Regions from separate parts of the Homo sapiens genome. Here region 1 is linked to region 2. Evidence: promoter capture Hi-C in human tissues and cell types (Jung and others, 2019). All regions are on one chromosome and are shown on one strand. Each heading gives the region's core, a stretch centred on a gene start or on the middle of the fragment in contact. The rest is flanking DNA. Distances are from core to core; before and after follow the strand shown.

Region 1 (5,701 bases), core at 1,488-3,987, 280 kb before region 2:
AGCAAAGAGGCTAAGGGAAGAACGTCTTGCACAATATGAATCAAAGAAAGCCAAAAGTAGGTCATTTGTTTTTAACTTCATTTCATGTTAATGTAAGTAATCTTTTTCAAAGCTTGACCTTGAAGTAATTTCCTCCACATTCCTTGAATAGGTCAATATTTTAAAACCTGTACAGGTTCTTCCACAGCTACTGGTCTGCAGCTGTTCTTATGGTAGCAGTTGTGGCATTCCTCTGTGGGAAAGAAACTGTTAACACAAACACCTCTTTCTTAGCAAAACAGAAAGTGGGTATATATGTGTGACAGACACAAGATGTATCTGTAGTTTTGTTTGGCTAAGGAGATAGTCTCAAAACAAATTGAGATGGATTTGTTTGTGTCTTGGAGTAGGGTGAAAAAAATACAATTCATTATTTGAATAATGCTGTTTATTGTTTTTAGAACCTGCACTTGTTGCCAAGTCTTCCATCTTACTAGATGTGAAACCTTGGGATGATGAGACAGATATGGCGAAATTAGAGGAGTGCGTCAGAAGCATTCAAGCAGACGGCTTAGTCTGGGGCTCATGTGAGTTTAGGCTTTGCCTTTTTTTTTTTGAAACTAACATCTGGAATTTGCCTACAGTTTCAACCTTTCCTACAAGACTTTTCTAACTAGGATTTTTCTTAATGCTCTTTTTAGCTAAACTAGTTCCAGTGGGATACGGAATTAAGAAACTTCAAATACAGTGTGTAGTTGAAGATGATAAAGTTGGAACAGATATGCTGGAGGAGCAGATCACTGCTTTTGAGGACTATGTGCAGTCCATGGATGTGGCTGCTTTCAACAAGATCTAAAATCCATCCTGGATCATGGCATTTAAATAAAAGATTGAAAGATTACCTTTGGCTCTTGAGTATGTTACATAGGAGGGTGGTGTATATATTCCTTTCATTTTGGGGGAAGGAATTAAATGAATATGTGATTCCTAAATACCCCAAATTTGGTTTGGCATTGTTGTTAGAAAATTGCAGTGCAGGCCAGGTGTGGTGGTTCATGCCTGTAATCCCAGCAGTTTGGGAGGCTGAAGTGGCTGGATCGAGACCAGGAGGCTGATACCAGCCTGGGCAATGGGGAGAGATCCTGTCTCTACAAAAAATATAAAAATTAGCTGGACATGGTAGTGCACCCCTGTATTCCCAGCTATTTGGGAGACTGAGGTGGGAGGATTTCTTGAACCCAGGAGGTTGAAACTGCAGTGAGCCAAGGTTGTGCGACTGCACTCCAGCCTGGGTGCCAGAGCAAGGTCCTGTCAAAAGAAAAAAAATTGTAGTGCAACTTTACCCACTTGTGATGTCCTTAGCAGTGCCTGATGATGTGATTTGTTGTAACCTAGCATCTTTGCACTGGGAACTTGATGTGAGATGTGTGACACTGCTAGAAGACACCTAACCCAGAGGAGGGAGGGCTTCCCAGAATTTGGCATGACTTACAACTACTTAACAGGTTACAAATTTAAAATAATGACTCATGATGTAAAGAAACCATCTTTTAAGTGTTGGGAATGTGATTTGGAGTAGCACTGTGTCCTGGGAGGGGGATTATATAGGTAACTGGTTCCCAGGCTTCCCAGAAAAACTTGACTTTGCTGTGAAGATTCATAGGTGCTGGGTTGTAGAGGCGGAATATTTTACTTGGATTTGGAAATCTGATTGGTTCTCATGCTGCAGGTAAATACTGGGATGAGGGTAGTATGTTGAGTGAAGAGATGGTCAAGTATTGGAAACCGTTTAATCTTAACAGGGAATTTGGGGTCTGGCTAACATTTGATACATTTTTTTAAATAGTAGTTTTACAAAAGCAGTGCTTGGGAATTGCTGATCTCAAATGATCAAAAAATTTTAGGTCAATTTTTTTTTTTTTTTTTTTTTTGAGATGGAGTCTCACTCTGTTGCCTGGGCTAGAGTGCAGTGGTGTGATCTCAGCTCACTGCAACCTCGGCCTCCCAGGTTCAAGCAATTCTCCTGCCTCAGCCCCCTGAGTAGCTGGGATTACAGGCATGCGCCACCATGCCTGGCTAATTTTTCTATTTTTAGTACATACGGGGCTTCACCATTTTGGTCAGGCTGGTCTCGAGCTCCTGACCTCAGGTGATCCACCCACCTTGGCCTCCCAAAGTGCTGGGATTATAGGCATAAGCCACAATGCCCAGCCCCTAGGTCAATTTTTTAATAGAACTATACAGTGCTATTTCTTCTCCATCTGATTTTATGTTGTGACTGCCTTGACTGTGGGAAACTATATTATAAGGAAGATTTATTTAACAGATAGATACATTGAATAATATCTCTAAGCAATGTTTATAATCCAACAGCCTAAAAGTCATGGGAGACATTTTCAGGTTGTCATTATCATAAGAGCCAGCAGAGGGCAGCACTACATTTTCTGGAAAACCAGAGAGTTTGGGAATAATGAAAATGCCAAAAGAAACACAAAAAACAAAAAACCAAAACCATGAATAAACTTCGGTGAATGGTAATAAAAATTTGCAATTATTGACATGGTGAAGGGGTTGAGTTCCAAATAGCTTGGCCAAAATGTTAACTATCAGCAGAAGTTTATGATGAGAAAACTAATGATTAATAATTAGTTTAAAGGTGGTCAAAAATTTAGAATGGTCAATTCAAACCACAGATGTCTTCAGAATCCTACAGTGATGAATGATGAGGCATACCATTTTGAAATCTTGATTCTACACCCTTGAATAAAAAATATTTTGATGGTATCTTTTAACTTCATATTTTAAAAAACACATGGCCGGATGTGGTGTCTCACACCTGTATTCCCAGCACTTTGGGAGGCCGAGGCAGCTGGATCATGAGGTCAGGCGATCTAGACCATCCTGGCTAACACAGTGAAACCCTGTCTCTACTAAAAATACAAAAAATTAGCCAGGTGTGGTGGCATGCGCCTGTAGTCCCAGCTACTTGGGAGGCTGAGGCAGGAGAATTGCTTGAACCCGGGAGGCAGAGGTTGCAGTGAGCTGAGATCACGCCACTGCACTCCAGCCTGGGCGACAAAAGTGAGACTCCATCTCAAAAGAAAAAAAAAAAGATAATATACCAACAGTTCAAAACTCAAGAGTATGTACAATGAAGTCTCTCCTGTCCCCTAGGCCTCCAGTTCCGCTCCATCAAAGCAGTGTTAACAGGTTCTTAGGTCTTTGCAGAGCCACTGTAAGCTTATGCATAGACTAATTGTAACACACCACATAGACTTTTGCACCTTGCATTTTCCTTTTGAAAATGAACACCTTGGGGCCGGGTGTGGTGGCTCACGCCTGTAATCCCAACACTTTGGGAGGCCTAGGTGGGCAGATCACAAGGTCAAGAGATCCAGACAATCCTGGCCAACATGGTGAAACCCTGTGTCTATTAAAAATACAAAAATTAGCTGGCCGTGGTGGCGCACGACTGTAGTCCCAGCCACTTGGGAGGCTGAGGCAGGAGAATCGCCTGAACCCGGGAGGCGGAGATTGCAGTGAGCTGAGATTGTACCACTGCATTCTGTCTCAAAAAAAAAAAAAAAAGAGCCAGGCGCGGTGGCTCATACCTGTAATCCCAGAGGTGGGGGATCACGAGGTCAGGAGTTTGAGACCAGCCTGGCCAACATGGTGAAACCCTGTCTCTACTAAAAATACAAAAAAAAAAAAAAAAAATGAACACCTTGGAGATTATGCCTTGGATATCCCATTATTAGTACATCCTTATTTAATAGATGCATAATTCATGTTCTCATTTCATAATTCATTTTCTCATAGTTCATTTAGACAGTCTCCTGTTGACTGGATTCTTAGGTTGCTTTTAATGTTTTGTTATTATGGGCAGTGCTGCAGTAGAAAACCCTGGTACTCATTTTCTTGAGAGCCAATATATTGAATGAACTGGTTTGTTTTGTTTTGTTTTGTTTTTTTGAGGTGGAGTCTCACTCTGTTGCCTGGGCTGGAGTGCAGTGGTGCGATCTCAGCTCCCTGCAACCTCTGCCTCCCGGGTTCAAGCGATTCTCCTGCCTCAGCCTCCCAAGTAGCTGGGATTACAGGTGCCTGCCGCTATGCCCAGCTAATTTTTTGTATTTTTAGTTTGATGGGGTTTCACCATGTTGGCCAGGCTGGTCTCAAACTCCTGACCTTGTGATACCCCCTCCTCAGCCTCCCAAAGTGCTGGGATTACAGGCGTGAGCTGCTGCGCCTGGCTCATGAACTTGTTTTAAACAAATAGTCTCAGAAGGCACTGGTTTCCAAAGAGATTTTTTTTTTTCCTGTTTCTGGCTTTAGAGTAGAAGGAAGCAAAGATAAAAAAGAGCCCACTTTTTTTTTTTTTGCATGCCCCATAAATGATTATAATGACTATGAAAGTTTTTCTTTTCTTTTTTTTTTTTTTTTTGAGACAGGGTCTCAATCTATCATCCAGGCTGGAGTGCAGTGGCATGATCACGGCTCACTGCAGCCTTGAACTCCTAGGCTTAAGCAATTCTACCTCAGCCTACTGAGTAGCTGGGACTACAGGCATGTGCCACCATACCCAGCTAATTTAAAAAAATTTTTTTAGAGATGGGGTCTTGCTATGATGCCCAGGCTTTGAACTCCTGGACTCAAGTGATCCTTCCACCTTGGCCTTCCAAGGTACTGGGATTACAGGTATGAGCCAACGTGTCCAGCCTGAAACAATATTTTTCATGTTCGGCATCCCTAGCAGAGGGCTGGGCAGTGTGGGAACTCAAAACTGATTCCTTCCGTATCACTTTGTTAGATGAAACAAAAAAACACAGAAGAAGAGAAAATTAGTATAGGGAGGCAATTCAAACATAAAATTGTTAAAAATAAAAGTCATTGGTTTGGGGATTAAGCAAATAATCTAAAAGTTCAGAAGGTCAGAGACGGCTAGAATTGATGACAAGTTTTTTGGAAGAATCAGATATAAAGATTTGGGAAGCAATTAGACAAATTCGTGAGATTTTGCAGTGTGTGTTTGGAATCTTAGATAGGATGGGGCCAGCCTGTAGACATATTTGAATTACAGGCTGGCACATTATATGAGGTTTCCAAACCAGAGAATATTAATGTTAAGACAGCTTTGATCTGGAGGTGATACGAATGAAAGCAAGGAGATCAGATGACTTATAATCCTCACAGATGGAAATGTCTAAATTATGGCATATGTATTCAATGAAATGTTTTATAAACTTTATTTATTTTTTTGAGATGGAGTCTCGCTCTATTGCCCAGGCTGGCGTGCCGTGGTGCGATGTTGGCTCATTGCAACCTCCACCTCCCAGGTTCAAGCGATTCCCCTGCCTCAGCCTCCCAAGTAGCTGGGATTACTTGTGTGCGCCACAATGCCCGGCTAATTTTTGTATTTTTAGTAGAGATGAAGTTTTGCCATGTTGGCCAGGCTGGTCTTGAACTCCTAACCTCAAGTGATCTGCCCATCTCGGCCTCCCAAAGTGCTGGGATTACAGGCGTGAGCCACCACGCCCAGCCTAAACTTTGTTTTTAAAAGTAAGTCTATAGCAACATTGAGAAATGCTTGATATTTCATGGACTATTACTATGAAAAGATATGCTTATTTGTCCATGATTATTCAGTAAATATACTAAGTCACTAGTAAGTGACAGAGGAGGAACACAAGCCAGGGTCTTCATAGGCCAGTTGATGTGTTGGTAA
Region 2 (5,455 bases), core at 877-3,376:
TGAAACCCCGTCTCTACTAAAACTACAAAAATTAGCCGGGTGTAGTGGCACGTGCCTGTAATCCCAGCTAATCCCAGCTACTTGGGAGGCTGAGGCAGGAGAATCGCTTGAACCTGGGAGGCAGAGGTTGCAGTGAGCTGAGATCGCACTACTGCATTCCAGCCTGGGTGACACAGCAAGACACCATCTCAAAAAAAAAAAAAAAAAAAGAAAAAAAGAAACTATATTGAATCCTCATTCCATACCCCAAGTGCATGAAATGATGTGTTGTAACTGGTGGGTGGGTTTGGTCAGTCCAGGTTGGCTGATAGGTTTATTTATCAGAACAGACTTTAAGAGGTTGTCACTGAATTGCAAGAGATGCCTTTCAAGTAACTTGCATCTGGGTGCTTTGCACCTTTCATTTCCCTCTCCCTTCTCATTGCTTGTACATCTCCTTTCTGGCTTGCTTTCTCTCAGGCCCTTTTTCAGGATGCATATTGTGTCAAATATAAATTTGGAAAACCTAGCCAGAGAATACTTGACTTGAGGGAGACAACCCTAAGAACATTGACCTGCAGTGGGCACTCCGGTGGGGCTAGAGTGTTCACTAGCCTGCCCCAAGTGTGACTTCTGCTTGTGTGTATCACCCATTTCTTTATTCATTTAGTACATATTTTCCAAGCGATTTCTCTGTGCCTCAGACACTGTGTGAGGTCCTAGGGACACAATGGTGTGCAGAAGGGAAAACTGTTGTTGCCCTCACATGGGGGAGGTAGCAACAATTACAAATTTACAGGAATAAATATGTGATAATAATATCCTAGCTCAACATAGAAAGGAAGTTATCTCAGTATTTACCTAACAGTTTTGTAATGTGTGTGTGCGCGCGCGTATATGTCTTCTTCTTTTCTCTTTGTTAAGTGTGAGTGGAGAAGATGATGGCTAACACTGAGTTCTGTCATGGCCATGGCACTTTTATACCCACATTCTTTCTTTTAATCATGGAATTCTCCACCCCAGCCCTCACCCCGTGGATGTCGGAGTAAGACAACATTGTTATCACTCAGATTGTCATTGGGAGGGTGAATAAATGAATGCTTGCATTATGAGAGTTTGGGGGCAGAAATATGCCACAGACTCTTATCTGAAGCCATCAGATTTAGTGGCTGCGAACCCACCGAAGTCAGGGATTTACATTTTTTACAGCAACGAGAGAAAACTTCCCCTTTCCTCTGCAGAAGTCAGGACTGGATCTCAAAAATAGAAATGTGTCCTCCTAAATGTGTGCCCATCCCCGTGGTTGACAAACAACGGATTTCCCAAGATAGCTGCCACACACTTGGTTTCTAATCTCTGTATTGCTTCCCCGCCAGAATGTCGAAGTCCTTCCCGAATATGCCCAGTCATACTTTCTGAACTTTTGAGCAAACACCGTCCGGCTTCTTGTGCTTTCCTCAAAGACCCCAGGCACCGGCAGGGAGGACACAGGCCGGGGCAGAGCGCCCCTGCGCGGGGGATTCCTGCCACTCCGCGCCAGCCTGCGGCGCAAACGCTCTTCTCAGCCGCAGTCCCACCCGCTGCTGGCAATCTGAATGAGGAGCCGCGCTATTTTTACCTCCCCGGCTGCAATCCTTTATATTTACATGCAGGAAGCAAATATATAAGGGATTAAGAAGGAGATGCGTGGCCTTAGTTTATCCAGAGCAGGAAGAGGTTGGAATAGGAGAGGGTATGTGAAGTCTGGGGTGGTGGAAAAGGCAGGTGGACTTCGGCTGGTTGTTTTCTCCCGATCATCCCTGTCTCTGGCCTGGAAACCCCCGTACTCTCTTTCTTCTGGCTTATCCGTGACTGCCGGCTCCCCCTCCACCGCCCCCATCTTTTGAGGTACCACCCGTCACCTCCGATGCTGCTTGGGCTGCTGCATCACTCTGCTGCTTTACCCCCTTCCCCGCCCCCCAACAAAGCATGCGCAGTGCGTTCCGGGCCAGGCAACAGCAGCAGCACAGCATCCAGCAACAGCATCAGCACCCGAAGCCCCGCTCGGGCGCGCTCTCGGGGGGCGGGGCGCACGCCCGCTCCGCGCGTCCCCGCGCCGCTCGCTCCCGCGCGTCCCCGCGCCGCTCGCTCCCGCGCGCCGCCTCAGCATCCTCAGGCCCGGCGGCAGCCCCCGCAGTCGCTGAAGCGGCCGCGCCCGCCGGGGGAGGGAGTAGCCGCTGGGGAGGCTCCAAGTTGGCGGAGCGGCGAGGACCCCTGGACTCCTCTGCGTCCCGCCCCGGGAGTGGCTGCGAGGCTAGGCGAGCCGGGAAAGGGGGCGCCGCCCAGCCCCGAGCCCCGCGCCCCGTGCCCCGAGCCCGGAGCCCCCTGCCCGCCGCGGCACCATGCGCGCCGAGCCGGCGTGACCGGCTCCGCCCGCGGCCGCCCCGCAGCTAGCCCGGCGCTCTCGCCGGCCACACGGAGCGGCGCCCGGGAGCTATGAGCCATGAAGCCGCCCGGCAGCAGCTCGCGGCAGCCGCCCCTGGCGGGCTGCAGCCTTGCCGGCGCTTCCTGCGGCCCCCAACGCGGCCCCGCCGGCTCGGTGCCTGCCAGCGCCCCGGCCCGCACGCCGCCCTGCCGCCTGCTTCTCGTCCTTCTCCTGCTGCCTCCGCTCGCCGCCTCGTCCCGGCCCCGCGCCTGGGGGGCTGCTGCGCCCAGCGGTGGGTATGGCCCCGTGCCCTTTGCGTTGGCTTTCCCGCGGGGCCCTGCAGAGGAAAGCGAAGGGCGCGCGGGTCCGTGTGCTCCGGGCTTGTCCCCGGCTCGGCCTTTCCTTCCCTCCCTGCCTGTCTTTCCACCCTTCTCGTTCCCAAACCCCCATTCATCCCAGTTCACTTTTGGAAGTCCATTTCTGTTGCATTCGCGAAAAACCCATTCCAATTCTTGTTGGTTCCACTGGGAGGTGTTTAGTGGATCCTGGGTCCCTCAGCGATCTCTGTGCAACTTGCGGAGGGGCAACCAGTGGATGGGAAATACAGCGAGGGAGCAAGTTGCTACTTGCGTGGTGGAACCTTAATGTGAATGCGGGGAGGATGTAGTGATAATAGTGGTAATGGGCTGTTTCCTCAAATTTCGTATCCGGCGCATTCAGTGCGGTTGGAATTAAGGTGGGGGAGGCACACTTCGGGGACCAAAGAATTAAGGTGCTGAAGACATACTTCATGCACGACCTTTGGTTCTGATTTCTCAAAGTGCTTGTCATTATAATGAACAATTAATATAATACCATCTTCTATATATTGATGATTGGAAGTCACTGAAAGCAGAAAGCTGGCTTTGTCAGGAAAATAAAAAGAAATTGGGAAGCTGCCAGCATCTGTATCCCTACATGGCAAAGTATGTTTGCTCATCTTAAAGTTAAAAGAGAAGGGAATTGTCCATTTTGTTAAAAGAGTCGATTAATATTCGGTATCCATAAATTCAGTACTCAAGTTATCTTAGGAGCGTTCTTAGCTCTTGGATGGGATGCCACTAGGCAGAGTAGAGTTGTGCTTCTGTGGACTCAGAGAAGGGGTGGAGATCGGGGGCAGGACCCCTGAACATGTTCATTTAATGACTCTTCTTCCCTCAAGTTCATTCTACCCCCCCCCCAACACTTAGAAGTATAGATTTGAGTCTGACTAGAAATGTATATATAAGACATAAATCAAAATAAATAGTGCACAGTTGTATAAGCCTTATTGGCTATTTATTAACTTCTCCAGGCCATTTTATTGTTGAAATAACTTGCTTTACTCTAGCTCTACTTCTTAACTGCTTATAAATAGAAAACTTTGTGTTTGAAATTAAAGGAAAAATGCATTTTAGTGCTTATGTATTTATGGGGTAAATATGTGTGTGTTTGTGTATGTTTGTATTTTCTGCTCCCCCACCCCCCTACCTCCACCAGCTCCGCATTGGAATGAAACTGCAGAAAAAAATTTGGGAGTCCTGGCAGATGAAGACAATACATTGCAACAGAATAGCAGCAGTAATATCAGTTACAGCAATGCAATGCAGAAAGAAATCACACTGCCTTCAAGACTCATATATTACATCAACCAAGACTCGGAAAGCCCTTATCACGTTCTTGACACAAAGGCAAGACACCAGCAAAAACATAATAAGGTAGGCAGGAGGCTGGCTATGCAAAAGTAACTATCATGAAGAGTTTTCCTTTGATTTGATTTTCTGCCAGAATCTGAGTTCACAAATTTTACTGCAGCATTTTATTAAGAAAGCAATTAATATTATGATAGGGGAGAAACTGGAAGGAATTAACTTGGGATCTACTGGGATAAGACTGTTGTTTCTCTTCTCTGACTAAACTGGAACTAGAATTTTCTGATACCTGAAATGATATCCATGTATCTTTCAGGTACATTGGGCACTGAACAGTAGTTAAGTGAATGTGTTTATGATTCTAACTTGTTTCTGTGAGGCTTTATGTAAGGGTGCAGTATTCTGCCTTGATATAAAACTGTCTCCCATGATATAAAAACTGCTTTCAATCTGCACATGCAAGATTGCTTCAAGAAGCTATTTGGCTGCAGTGTCTCCATCAGTCTTTCCACTTAGAAATTGAGTGTTTAAACAGTCTGTTTCTTTAATTGATCAGTAGGAGGAAAAAAAAATTTTCTGTTGTATTTTCAATAGGTAAACAATTTGACATTTAAAAAGATTATGGTGACTAGACACAAATTATTTGCATAATATGAAGACCAATTTTGATTGGCATAATTCTTCAGTACCTACTCTGCATTGATTATGAGCAGTTGCTTTACTTTCAGGTTAGTTCAGAAAGTGGAACTGATATTTACCAAGGTATCAGTAGAAGACAAATGTTTAATATCCAAAGAGTTTAAGGGATCTTTTTCCCTGTGTTACTATTCTTTACTTGAATTAATATTATTTTGAACCCCGAGCAGATTTAAACAATGGATTATCGGTTCTTCTGTTGTTTATCGGGAGCAGAAAATAGAGTCTGTATGTTAAATGTTTCATTTTGATCTGTACTTGTTCAGGTGAGAACAACAGTTAGCAATTAACTGTCTAAACATCTAGAATTTAAGAAAGTATCTGCAGTTTACATCATTGTTTTTTATTAGTTTTCTAAAATATAGGTGAGTGGTAACAGTATTTATCCCCATTTTACAAATGGGGAGCTAGAAATTTAAGGCTTTTGGGTGATTTTCCTATGTTGTAAAGCAGCTAATATAAAATTCAGGTGACCTGAATGTTTAATTTTTACTATTTTTTACAAGTTAGGTCTCTGAGAAAGTGCTTTCTTCACCTTGAATATTACTGGAGAGGTGAACTTTCTTTCACATTATTTTGAAGTGGCTGCTACCCACCGTGAGATAAATGTGTCTCTGTTCTCAGCCAGCCCTTTTCTCCATAAGCTCCTATATAACTTAATGGGGTGACTAATAGGTCATGTCTAACTCATTTGTCTTATTGATAG

Evidence for each region. Contacts are between HindIII fragments. The study calls those that stand out against the background at their distance.
Region 1: a contact is called between a fragment that was not itself captured here and the fragment with the promoter of ADAM23 in region 2, in 1 of the 25 tissues and cell types used here (hippocampus).

The regions. Positions count from the first base shown.
Region 1 is chr2:206,162,049-206,167,749 of GRCh38, forward strand. EEF1B2 (eukaryotic translation elongation factor 1 beta 2) reads left to right here. Exons shown (of 6, transcript NM_001959.4): 4 at 1-56; 5 at 441-566; 6 at 681-880. The coding sequence ends at 835. SNORA41 (small nucleolar RNA, H/ACA box 41) reads left to right here and starts at 180; the gene lies at 180-311. The HindIII fragment of the contact is 6,047 bases long and covers 1-5,701 here.
Region 2 is chr2:206,441,406-206,446,860 of GRCh38, forward strand. ADAM23 (ADAM metallopeptidase domain 23) reads left to right here and starts at 2,127. Exons shown (of 26, transcript NM_003812.4): 1 at 2,127-2,675; 2 at 3,902-4,119. The coding sequence starts at 2,462. RefSeq lists a silencer at 2,572-2,701. The HindIII fragment of the contact is 14,990 bases long and covers 1-5,455 here.